Linked DNA regions of Homo sapiens: region 2 is linked to region 1. Evidence: promoter capture Hi-C in human tissues and cell types (Jung and others, 2019). All regions are on one chromosome and are shown on one strand. Each heading gives the region's core, a stretch centred on a gene start or on the middle of the fragment in contact. The rest is flanking DNA. Distances are from core to core; before and after follow the strand shown.

Region 1 (6,009 bases), core at 1,477-3,976:
AAATAATCACATATACATGAGAGCACAGTCCTGGGAGAAAGCCGAAAGTGGACATGAAATGTTGCTTCACGTGTAGCATGTATCATGTAGAACTGTGTCATCTCAAGCAACAGCCTACCAGACCATGCCCCCAGAGACCCCTCAACAGGATATCCCCGCAGAATAGGTCTCCCTCTTCCCTCAGTCCCTGCCTCCCCAGGCTGCACTCACTAGCGCTCGCTCATGACACCTGTCCACTGTGCCTAGGTCCGCACAGCTACACCCTCACGTTCTCCCAGGAGACACGGGACTTGCTAAAAATCACGCGGCTGCAATGCATCCAGCCAGGACTCCATTCTGGCCACCAGCGCTACGCTCCTCCTCTTGGCCACAGGAATAGCGTCAGGAGCTGCGCTTCTCTCCCAGAGCTTCTGTTTCCACCGCCAGAAAATGGGTATGTTCATTTCTCCAGTAAAGTGTTTAGTTCTATAAGGGATTCGATCAACTTAACAGCTACCAGTCTACCTGCCTCACAGAATCAACGTGACTCAACAGCGACATTTCGAAGTATCACTGAAGACTGCAAAAACCCCTGAAAGTTTAAGATAGAAATGGATGCAAATGTACCCTATGAGGAAGTGTTGTGCGAGTGGACGATGATGTCACCCGTCTACTCTCAGCTCCTTTTTCAAATTCGGTGAGGCGTTTGTGGACGAGCACACCATGCAAAGCGGAGCAGAGGACCCCATGTGTGTCCTACGACACTTATTTTAACATGTTATTTTCAACAAGCAATTAATATTCCGGGGCAAAACATACCGCAAGCTTTATGAAACTGACCAGATGGGAAAAATCTTTGAGGTGCCATTTTTCCACTGGCTCAGCAAGAATTACATTATCCAGACCCAGGGAAACCTCACCCGGCTCCATTCTAAAAGTCCACTGCTGTTGAGTGAGATGCCCCCGAGTCGTCCGGCCTGGGCTGACCATTCACGGGCTCTGGAAAGAAAGCCTTGGTCTCTCTGCGGAGGAGGAGAGGAACTCGGGCCCCCGCCCCGCCCCAGGGCCTCCAGGAAGCAGCCTGCAAACTCGGCGACCCCTGGGAGCCGTGGTCTGTCCCAGCACTTTGTTTCGGAGGTAGGCGCACTGGCCGCCCACTTCCTGAATTGTTCACTCAATTTTTTTACAACTTTTGCAGACTCTTTGCTGGTGCCAAAAAGTCCTCTGGCTCAGCTAAGAAACGTGAAAACTATTTTTGGCATGCAGAAAAGTCGCTACAGGACTAAATTAGAGTCGGCGCCTGAAACGCAGCCCGCGTTCACAGATCCCGAAAATGTTGAATCCGACTCGCTTCAGAACACAGGAGGCCTGCAGCGAACTCTGGCGGCATCTCGGTACCTGGAGCCGCGGGGCGGAGGGATGGGGATTCCTGCTGTGGAGACCGTGACGCGGGACGGCCCGCAGGACAGGGTGTCAACCCCAACGCAACGCATCCGGTTAAACGTATAGCGCAACTGCGAACACGCTCGCGTGGATTAGAAGCGAAAGAAGAGAAATGCCCGAGGCAGAAACCCGCTCTGAGTCCCGGCTCCATCTAGACCCGGGCTGCCCCGAGACTACCGCGCGGCCCCTCTCGGGAACCCCGGCCGCCCGGCTCGCTCCGGGCGCAGGAAAAGCCCCTGAGAAGCGCGGGGCCCCCAGGACACCCCAGGAGAGGACGCTCCGGGCAGATGCGGGGGCACTGGGAGCGGGGGCGCCGCGGCTGCGGGAACTGAGGCTCCTCTGGGGAGGCTTCCCCGGCGCGGGGGGATGGGGTGGGCACTGCGCTCCAAGGGGCGGGGGAGGGGGAGAGGGCGGAGGCTGGGGGAGGAGAAGGAAGGGGGGGAGGAGGAGGGGAAGGGAGGAGGAGGAGGAAGGGGAGGAGGAGGAGGAAGGGGAGGAGGAGGAGGAAGGGGAGGAGGAAGAGGAGCGGAGGAGGGGAGCGAACAGGACGAGGAACGGGGCGGAGGGGGCTGGGAGGACGGAGGGGGCTGCGCCGCGCTCGGGGAGCGGAGGGGGACCGAGGGGTCCTGAGCGGGGGAAAGGTGAGCGGAGGAGGGGCCGCGAACCAGGGGGAAGCGGGAGGCCGGCGGAGCATGAGAGGGGGCGGCGGGAGGCGAGCGGGGGGAGCCCCGGAGGCTCCAACAACTTCCCAGTCCTGCGGGGATTCCGAGTTCCGAACAAAGGCGGCTACGAAGGCCGCGCGCACAGCGCTCTGTTCCGCCCCTCGGCGTCTCCCGCAGGGCGAACAAAGGCCCAGCGGGTCCCCGCGCCCAGGTCCCCCCACGTCCCCCTTCGGAGGTTCCCTTCTGCGTCCCAAGTCCCCAGGCCCCCCGCGCGCCCGATGCCCCCTCCACCCTCCGCGCCCCCCACCTCCGATCACCCCTGCGCTCCCGGATCTCCACGAAGCCCCGGACCCCGCGCCCCCGGCGTCCCCCGCGGCACTCACAGGATGGAGGTCTGCGGCGCCACGGCGGGCACGGCCTCCAGCAGCAGATGCATGCAGCGCACGGTGGTGCGGAAGCACAGGCAGCGGCTCGGACACCCTGCGCCCGGCTTCTGGGCCACCACGGCCAGCGTCCCCCAGGCGCAGAACAGCACGAGCGCCAACAGGCAGCGGCGCCCGGGGCCCCTGGAGCGCTTGGCCATGGCCGACGGCGCGGACGGACGCTCGGACGCACGGAGCCACCACGGCCGGCTCCCGACTGCGCCCGCCCGGCCGCGGCCCACGTCCCAGCTGTGCGCGGGGGGCGGGGGGCGCCAGCTGTGCACATGCGCGAGGCTCCTCCCGGCCCCTCTGAATCCCCGAGGGCGGGGCGGGGCGAGAACCCGGGGCCCCAGCGTCCGGCCTGAGCGCCCTCATCCCGGTGGGGCGGCCCGCATGGCCAAGGCGAGCGCTCGGGGGCGCGGAGGAGAGCATTGGCACCCCTGATTCTGCGCTCGAGACTCGGGGCTCGGGACCCTGGGGCCTACGCGAAGCTTCTCCACTTCTCTTACCCGTGGTTTCTGCCTGCGCTCACTACGGGTTTTTTAGTTGGCGCCTTAATGTTTGTAACACTTTTAGAGCGCTTGCTCTGATCCGGGCACGATTCCAGGCGCGCAGGCGCGCTCCTCTCTTTCTCCTTCTCCCTACCCGCAACCACGTAGGAAATTATTTAACGTTCCAAAAAAGCCCCTCATTCCTTTTGAGGAAACTGAGGCCCAAGCCCCAAAGCGCACAGCAAGGGAGTCTGCGGGAAGATTAGACCCAGGCGGTCCGGCTCCCCGGGGCCTGTCAGCCACCTGCTCTCTGCCGGCCGCCTGGCTCAGCACAGTTGGGAAAATGAAAGGTCCTGTGTGGAGTCCTTGGCGCGGCGCAATGCAGCCCCCGGGATTCTCGCGGCCTTCAGTGCGTGCCCTCCTGGGACAGACCTAGGAGGAGACCCAGGGAACCCCCCCCCCCCACGTCGGGTGTGTCTAGAGACAGCAGAAGACTTTGGAAAGGAGGGAAGACACTGCGTGAGATACGCACAAAGGTGGCGTTCTCACATAGTTCATACATTCTCTCCAATCATCTCACAAGGACCCAGTCTGAATTTCACAGACAAGGAAGGTGAGGCCAAGTTGCTGAACCCAGGCCACAGGGTGACGGTGCCAGATTCAGAGGCACAGCATGGGCGTGTTCCCGTCGCAAACCCCAAGTCTCAGCTGTGTCCCCGTGCTGGTGTTCTAGCCTGAGCTGCGTTTGAAAGCAGCCTGGAATGGGATTGGTGGGTAATAGGCTAGTTTCCTGTTGCTATGTTAAAACACAAAAGCAACTACCACGAGACATAGCCCGGAGGTCACAGGTGCATTGCTGACCACAGGGCACCATCTAAGGACTGGACCCCCGAGGCTGCTGGCAGGGGGTTCCAGTTCCTTGCCGTGTGGGTCTCCATGGCCTGCACACTGGACATGGCCTGATGCCTCCCAGAGCAGGTATTAGAAGAAAGAGGAAGAGAATGAGAGTACAACACAGAAGCCAGGGTAAAACCTAACCCAGCCTTGGAACTGGCCCCGCATCACACCTGCGGGGTGCATCCTCAGAGGTCGGTGGCTCCCGCTGACATTCCAGATGCCATCTTTCCTGCAGGATTTTATCCACCCTCTACAGCGGATGCAGCTCACACTCCGGATTCCATTTCTCCTGCAGGATCCTATTCACACACTCCGGTGGGCCCAGCTCACACTGCAGACAACATCTCTCCTGCAGGATACTATCCACACACAGAAGTGGGTCCAGCTCACACTGCAGACATCTCTCCTGCAAGATCCTATTCACACATTCCAGTGACTCCAGTTCACACTGTAGATGCCAAAACTTATGCAGGATTCTATGCACACACACTAGTGGTGCATTTCACACTCCGGATGCCGTATCTTCTGCAGAATCCTGTCCACACATTTCAGTGGGTCCAGTTCACGCTCTACATGTGCTCTCTCCTGCGGGCTCCTATCCACACACTCCGGAGGTGCCATTCACACTCTAGATGCCATCTCTCCTGCAGGACGATGTCCACACCCTCCAGTGGGTCCAGTTCACACTCTAGAGGACATCACTTTTGCAGGATCCTCTCTACACATTCCACCGGTGCCATTCACACCACAGATGCTGTCTCTTTGCAGAGTCCTATCCACATGCCCCAGGGCTGCAGCTCACACTGCAGACACCATCACCCCTGCAGTATCCTATCCACACACCTCAGTGGGTCCCATTCACACTCCAGAGGCTATCACTTTTGCAGGATCCTATACACACACTTTAATGGGGCCAGCTCACAGTCCAGAAGCCGTTACTCCAGCATGATTCTAGCTACACACCCCAGTGGCCCAGTTTACACTGCAGATGCCTTGTCTTCTGCAGGATCCTCTCCAGGCACAACAGTGGGTCCAGTTCACACTCCAGTTGCCATCTCTCCTGCAGGACCCTACCCATACACTCAAGTGGGTCCAGTTCACACTCCAAATGCCATCCACCTGCAGCATCCCAACCTCTCACTCAAGTGGGTGCAGTTCACACTCCAGTTGCCATCTCTCCTGCAGGACCCTACCCACACACTACAGTGCTCCACTTCACACAGCAGACATCATCACTGCTGAAGGCTGCTGTCCACACAGTCCTGTGGATGCAGTGCTCACTCCACATGCCATCACTCTTGCAGGATCCTACCCACACACTCGAGGCAGTCCAGATCACACTGCAGATGTCATCACTCCTGCAAGATGCTATCCATACACTCCAGTGGGTTCGGTTCACACTGCAGATGCCATCTCTCCTCAAAGATCCTGTCTACACATAGCAGTGGTTGAGTTTGGGTCCCACCCAAAGATTCCAGTGGGTCCGCTTCCCACTGCACACGCCATCTCACCTGCAGGATTCTCTCCATACACTCCACTCAGTCCAGTTTACATTCTACATGTCGTCTCTCCTGCAAGATTCTATCCACACACTCGAGTAGGTCCAGCTGAAACTCCATATGCCATCGCCCCTGCGGGATCCTGCGCACACTCTCCAGTGGGTTCAGATTAGACTCCGGGTGCCATCGCCCCTGCGGGATCCTGCGCACACATTCGAGTGGGTTTAGTTCAGATTCCGATGCCATCACCCCTGCAGGGTCCTGTCCACGCACTCCAGAGGATTCATTTCAGACTCCGGGTGCCATCGCCCCTGCGGGATCCTGTGCACACACTCCAGTGGGTTCAGATTAGACTCCGGGTGCCATCACCCCTGCAGGATCCTGTGCACACACTCCAGTGAGTTCAGCCATCACCCCGCAGGATCCTGTGCACACACGCCAGTGGGTTCAGCCATCACCCCGCAGGATCCTGTGCACACACACCAGTGGGTCCAGATGCAGATGCCATCACTCCTCCTGGATCCTCTCCACACCCTCCTGTTGTTCCAGCTCACACTGGACGCCATCTCTCCTGCTGGATTCCATCCACAGATGCTCTTGCGTCCAGCACATGCCA
Region 2 (6,048 bases), core at 554-3,053, 41 kb after region 1:
GCCACCACAGCCAGCTAATTTTTGTATTTTTAGTAGAGATGGGGTTTCACCATGTTGGCCAGGCTGGTCTCGAACTCCTGACCTCAGGTGATCTCCCGCCTCGGCCTCCCACAGTGCTGGGATTATAGACATGAGCCATAGTACCCAGACTTTCCTTAAGCTTTTAAAAGCTCAACTTACAAAAGTGTTCTTTTATTTAAATACGACAGGTGTGAGCAATCGAGATTTAGGGTTCCTTTGATTAACCTTCGGTCCCGTCCACGAAGTGGTGAACTGAACATCATTAAAGCTTCCACACAGATTTTACAAGTGCGACGTGCTCACATTCCCCTAAAAGCTCCACTGTCTGTTGCATCCTTGTATTTTTTTTTTGACAGTAAAGCTGATAAGCAGCGGGGCTGTGTTTTTTTTAATGAGCCTGGGTGCACGCGTGGAGGGATCACAATTACACCAATAACAAAAATACACAATTGAAATTTTAGTCTCACGGCTGAGGCATCACTTTAATTGATCAGATTCTCTTAAATATTTCAATTCTTAAAATGCTAAATATGCCTAATTCTAACACAGAAAATGCTTTATTTCTTCATTCTAATTTTTGCAACGTTGAAAGATGCCTACGACTGAGAGATGAAAATACAAGCGGACAATGGACCGACCACATGTAAAAGCAGACATCAGACCCACAACCAGCACAGGAAACCAAGCCCTTACCGGCAAGGAGCAGCCCAGGATGCCCGCCTGCTATCTGCAAATCAGACGTGCAGGAGTCCTGATCGCTGTCCCTAGTGACGATCCAGAAAGCTGAGCAACAGTGCCGTAACAATCAGCCCCAGCTGGTCAGAGCTTAACAACTCACAGCTGCCCCGACTTCTGCCCTGACGTCCCATTGAGGACAGACGGAGAAAGACAAACGTGCTCCCCCGACACTCACACGGGACGCCCCGATTCCATTTGCCGCCCCAGCTCCCAGGCCAGCAGCCTCCATCGGGGCTCACCGGGTGCCTTCCCTTCCCCGGGAAGCTCCCACGCCCAGCCTGCCGGAGTCTCTGCGAAAATGCAGGTGATGGTGGTCGGCTTCCTAACTCTGAGGAGCTCGGGATAAGCAGCCTCTGTCTGTTGTCATTTGGGCAGTCTTTGCTTATTTACACCCTACTAAGGAAACAATTTGAGGCTCCCGAGTAATTTTGAGGGTGGCCTTCCCAGCTTGATGAGGTTTTGTAAACCGTCTGGGGGGAGACACATGGTGCCTGAATTATGATCTCATTTTAAGGTAGTGTCACAACCTCAATTTTTCAGTTTCTTTGTAAAGTCAGTAACCTCCATCTAGACTTCTATATCCCCCGATTAACCTCTGCACTAAATTCTATGTAAATAACTTTAAACTAGCTCCTAAGTTCTGAAGATCTTGGGACATGACAACGCCGTATTCTTTTTAAACCTTCTTTTCTGGATAGGTGACATCTTATTTGGATTCTAATACTCTTAGGCCACATCTCTCTTTAAAGAGGTCACTCCTAGTATAGGAGGGAGACAGAATCCTGTTCACTCCAACAGGGTCCCCTCCTGGGTAGAGGGGCAGAGATTCTCTCTTTGGGAAAAGATGAGGAGAGGATTGGGCTTCTCCATGACCCGTCTCATTGCGGTGAGACACTTCTCAGGAACACCTCTGCTGTCAGACATGCCTGACAAAGCTGGGTCGTGGGGAAAGGCCTCCGCCGTCAGACATACCTGACAAAGCTGGGTCCTGGGGCGGATGCTGTTCAGGTGTCAGGAGGCCCCTTCTGTGGGGATAACTGTGTAAGACACCTCGCTTGGGGCTGACCCATACGAGATGTTTAACGATGGCATGTCTCTGGCTCTCTCCCCAGACGGTCTTGGGTGGTTTTGTTCCCCACATATCAAAGAGGGCAAATGAGTTGAATGCCTGCTGTTTGTATCTCACACATGAGAAGGAAACAATTTGTTCCTTAGAAAAGGGAAACGCTATGATCGCTCATGGTTTTTATCAGATGCTTCACATGTTTTGTTGGCGGCCTGTGGAAAGAGCATGGTTCTCTGCTGTTGCTGGGCAAGGCTGCTGGCCTCCGAGGGGAGGGACGGATCCTAAGGAAGGCCGGGCACCCACCGCATTCGGCCAGAAAACAAAGCTGTGGTGGAAGGCGGGGACAGTTGTTGGGCCCTAAGTATTGAAGCCATGATTTACCTTCGATTATCTCTCTTTCGGGCCCTAAGATGGAATTCTCAATTTCCTGATTCCATCACCGGCCCCTCCCTCTTCTTTCCTTCTCTGATTAATTTCCCACCTTTATCTGGCCATCTGCACACACATCCCTGTGTTTGTGGGTAATACTGATCCTTCTTTATTTCCTTATCTTACCTTGCTCAACGAAGATTCGAAGAAACTGAAGGGACACAAACAATGCTCTAGAAAGAAAAAACTCATTTAATTAAAAAGCAAGAAGAGGATGAGAAGAAACTAGGATGCAAGGATGGGGTCAGAGACCAGAGGTGACTCCATCCAGAGGAAAGTCCAGCATGCCCCACATTTGGCCTCACACAGGGGAGGCCTCATTAGGACCAACAGTGAGGCTTCCCCTTAGGCCACTCTATTTGATACTGAAAATGAGGGTGCTCAGGGGCTGCCATGTGCCTGTTTTATTATTATACAAGGAGGTCTATGCCAACTACATTTATTAGGATGGGATGTTTTCTTTGTGTCGTTTCCCACTTGACCCAGTGTCTGAACAGTGACTGATAACTTGTGTGTGTCATAGTAAGTGAAATACAAAGGATGAAAGCCTGATTATCTTCATGTACTTAAATTGCTTCTCCCTTAAGACCCTGAGCTCTGCCTCATTACCCAGCTGTGTTGTGTAAACCAGTAAGTATCTGAGACAGGTCTCAACCAATTCAGAAGTTTATTTTGCTAAGGCTGAGGACTAAACTCTGATTTTTTTTATCTTGCCCAAATTCCTATTGAAGGGGTCTGGGGAGTCACGCCCTGCAAACTATAAATTCTCATCAGATGGGTTTTATTTAACCTGTATATCATGACTTACTTTTCCAACCTGACTCTGGCATAACATTACAAGACAAGGAAGAAAATCAAAATATTTTACCCCAAAACATGTATCTTTGCCATATTTTGAAATGGCCCTGCAAAGCTGTTCTTTGTAGGGGGAAATTTTGCATCTGTAAAGAATCTCTGTTAACATAACTGGATCTTTTTCTTCCAGGCCTTCTCAATCCTGAAGAGATTAACTAAGATCCGAATAGGAAGGCCGGGCGAGGTGGCTCACGTGCCAATCTCAGCACTTTGGGAGGCTGAGGTGGGAGGATCACAAGGTCAGGAGTTCACGATCAGTCTGGCCAACGTGGTGAAAGCCCGTCTCTACTAAAAATACAAAAAATTAGCCGATGTGATGGTGTGCACCTGTAATCCCAGCTACTTGGGAGGCTGAGGCAGGATAATTGCGTGAACCCAGAAGGCGGAGGCTGCAGTGAGCCGAGATTGTGCCATTGCACTCCAGCCTGGGCAATAATGTGAGACTCCGTCTCAAAAAAATAAATAAATAAAAAAAATAAAATCTGATAGGAAACATTAGTCATCTATTGTCTCTAAGGGGAGCCACTATAAGACTTCACAAGAACTTTGGTTTCCACAGTCTTTATCTTAACCTGAACATTCCCTTTCTATCAATCCCAGGTCTTTAGACAAACTCAACCAATTGTCAACCAGAAAATGTTTAAATTCACCGATAGCCTGGAAGCCCCCACTTTGAGTTGTCCCACCTTTCTGGACCAAACCAAAGTATTTCTTAAATGTATTTGATTGATGTCTCATGCCTCCCTAAAATGTATAAAATCAATCTGTGCCCTGACCACCTTGGGCACATGTTCTCAGCACCTCCTGAGGGCTGTGTCGTGGACCATGGCCACTCATATTTGGCTCAGAATAAATCTCTTCAAATATTTTACAGAGTCCAACTCTTTTTGTTGATAACAAATGCCCCTTCATGCATTTGTAATTTTTTTCTGTACTCTTCATCTACTTTATCATAATCCCCTTATTACAAGGTTTTTATAGCCATTATTTTAAGAGCTCTCTAGTACTCCATAAAATTCATGGATCATGAATTGCTTAATCATTCCTCTGTAATAGGACTTTAGGGTTGTTTTTATTGATTTTGGTACATTTGTAATTGTTTTGGTATTTCTAGTATAGACTGAGATTGAGGCAAAATATAAATTTTCTAAGATTTTTGAAAATATTGTGAAATTGCTTTCTAAAATATTTACATCAATTCTCAGGCAAACTGTTCCTATGGACAAATAGCTTTTAATAATCCTAACAGACAGGCCTGAGCCAGCACATCATTAACTCGGCTTGTTCCTAAAGACAGCCTTTGACAGAGCTTCTTCCACCCTGCGGGTCTAGAGAGACAGAGATGCAGGGTGGTAGGAGTGAGAGTCGCCTCTCTCTTCTGTCAGCTCTGAGGACTCTACCAAGGACTGGAGGGGGACTCACTGCAATCACCAGTGCTTCCAGGAAGCAGTGCTGTTGCAAATGAGCCATCCGAACACACTAGCTTATAAGAAGTGCTCAGAGGACCTTGAATCGTGAAGCAGCTGAAGGCACCACTGGGAATAAATTATGAAATTTAACTAAGATTATCAGAGTCCCTTTCTCAAATTTTATATTTTGGGTGATTGTGTCTATGAGAGGAGGGTATTTTTGGAATTTTAAACCATGACATTAACTAATATAGTTGATGTGAAAGTGGGTAATTCATTGTTAAATTATATTTGAAGGGCAATTTAAGTTTATGGGTGACTTGCTGCCGGGATCCTTGCCAACAGCATGGAAGTAAGAAGGCATCATCTTTCAACACCCAGGTAACCAACGATGGGCTGCCTGTCCTTCTGCTCCCCTGACGTGAAACTGGAGAAGGACACGTCTCCCAGTTAACCCGAATCAGTCAGGAGGTGGCAGCCAGTTTGGGACATTTTGTAAAACAATGGCCCTGGGCAGTTGAAAACTGTCTGTGTTCTGGGAGACAGGCAGGCCGAGAAACTGCTCAGTAATAAGAGGTGACAGGGACAGGAACAGGGACAGGGACGGAGCAGCTGGGAGCAGTGCACCTCCTCTGGGAGACAGGCAGGCTGAGAGTCTGCTCAGTAATAAGGAGGTGACAGGGACAGGGACAGGGACAGGGATGGACCAGCTGGGAGCAGCGCGCCTCCTCGACTGGATTCCAGAAGAAAGGCTCTACAAAGGACGTGACCGCCCTGCCTGGGCGCGCTGAGATGCTGACGCATGCACAACGGCAATGCCCCCAAGTGTGGTGGCTGCAGGGCTGCTGGTGGAGAATTCCCTGCCCAGGGGAGCCCTGTGCTGGGAGGCACCGTGTCCTCCGTCCAGGCTCGCTCTCAGATGGCCTAGCCCAGCGAGGGGCAGGAGCGACAGCAAATGGGAAAAGGACGGCCCAGTGGGGATGCCGAGACACTCACATAGTTTTCTAAAAGTCATTGACTTCTATATGCCTCGGAGTTGAGAATCAAACTGGTAAAAATGTTAAAAGCAACTAAGTTGGAGTGAAAGGGTTCGAGTGGATCCCACGGGACCCCAGACAGCATTTCCCAGACTCAAGTGAAGACGCAGACCCGGGTTAGAGATCCTTCGTGCTACAAATGTGGCAACACCTTGTTTATTTAGAGTAAGATGTGTTAACATCCAGCATGACAAAATTTGTACAAAGTTCACAATTTAAAAATGAAGTATCACAGCAACTTGTGATTCCACACATTTATAGCAAAATTAAAGTGTCAACAAACCCATGCCGTGTAGTACAAAAATAAATCAAACTTCAGTTCCACAGAGAGCACAATAAATAGTTTATACAAAATTCTGTCTTAATAAATGATTACTTAAATTAACTTAGAAATGAATATGAACAATAAGTTATAATAAACTCTGATGACTCACAATAATCCATATGAAAGGTCAGCATTCTAATATGTGACACTTTTGTGATCCCTATATAA

The links. Contacts are between HindIII fragments. The study calls those that stand out against the background at their distance.
Region 2: a fragment that was not itself captured here is called in contact with the fragment with the promoter of PXDN in region 1 in 1 of the 25 tissues and cell types used here (IMR-90 fibroblasts).

The regions. Positions count from the first base shown.
Region 1 is chr2:1,741,789-1,747,797 of GRCh38, forward strand. PXDN (peroxidasin) reads right to left here and starts at 2,727. Exons shown (of 23, transcript NM_012293.3): 1 at 2,468-2,727. The coding sequence starts at 2,667. The HindIII fragment of the contact is 6,203 bases long and covers 1,901-6,009 here.
Region 2 is chr2:1,783,441-1,789,488 of GRCh38, forward strand. MYT1L (myelin transcription factor 1 like) reads right to left here. Exons shown (of 25, transcript NM_001303052.2): 25 at 5,673-6,048. Among named protein-coding and RNA genes, the nearest start is that of PXDN, 42 kb to the left of the region's middle. The HindIII fragment of the contact is 3,158 bases long and covers 225-3,382 here.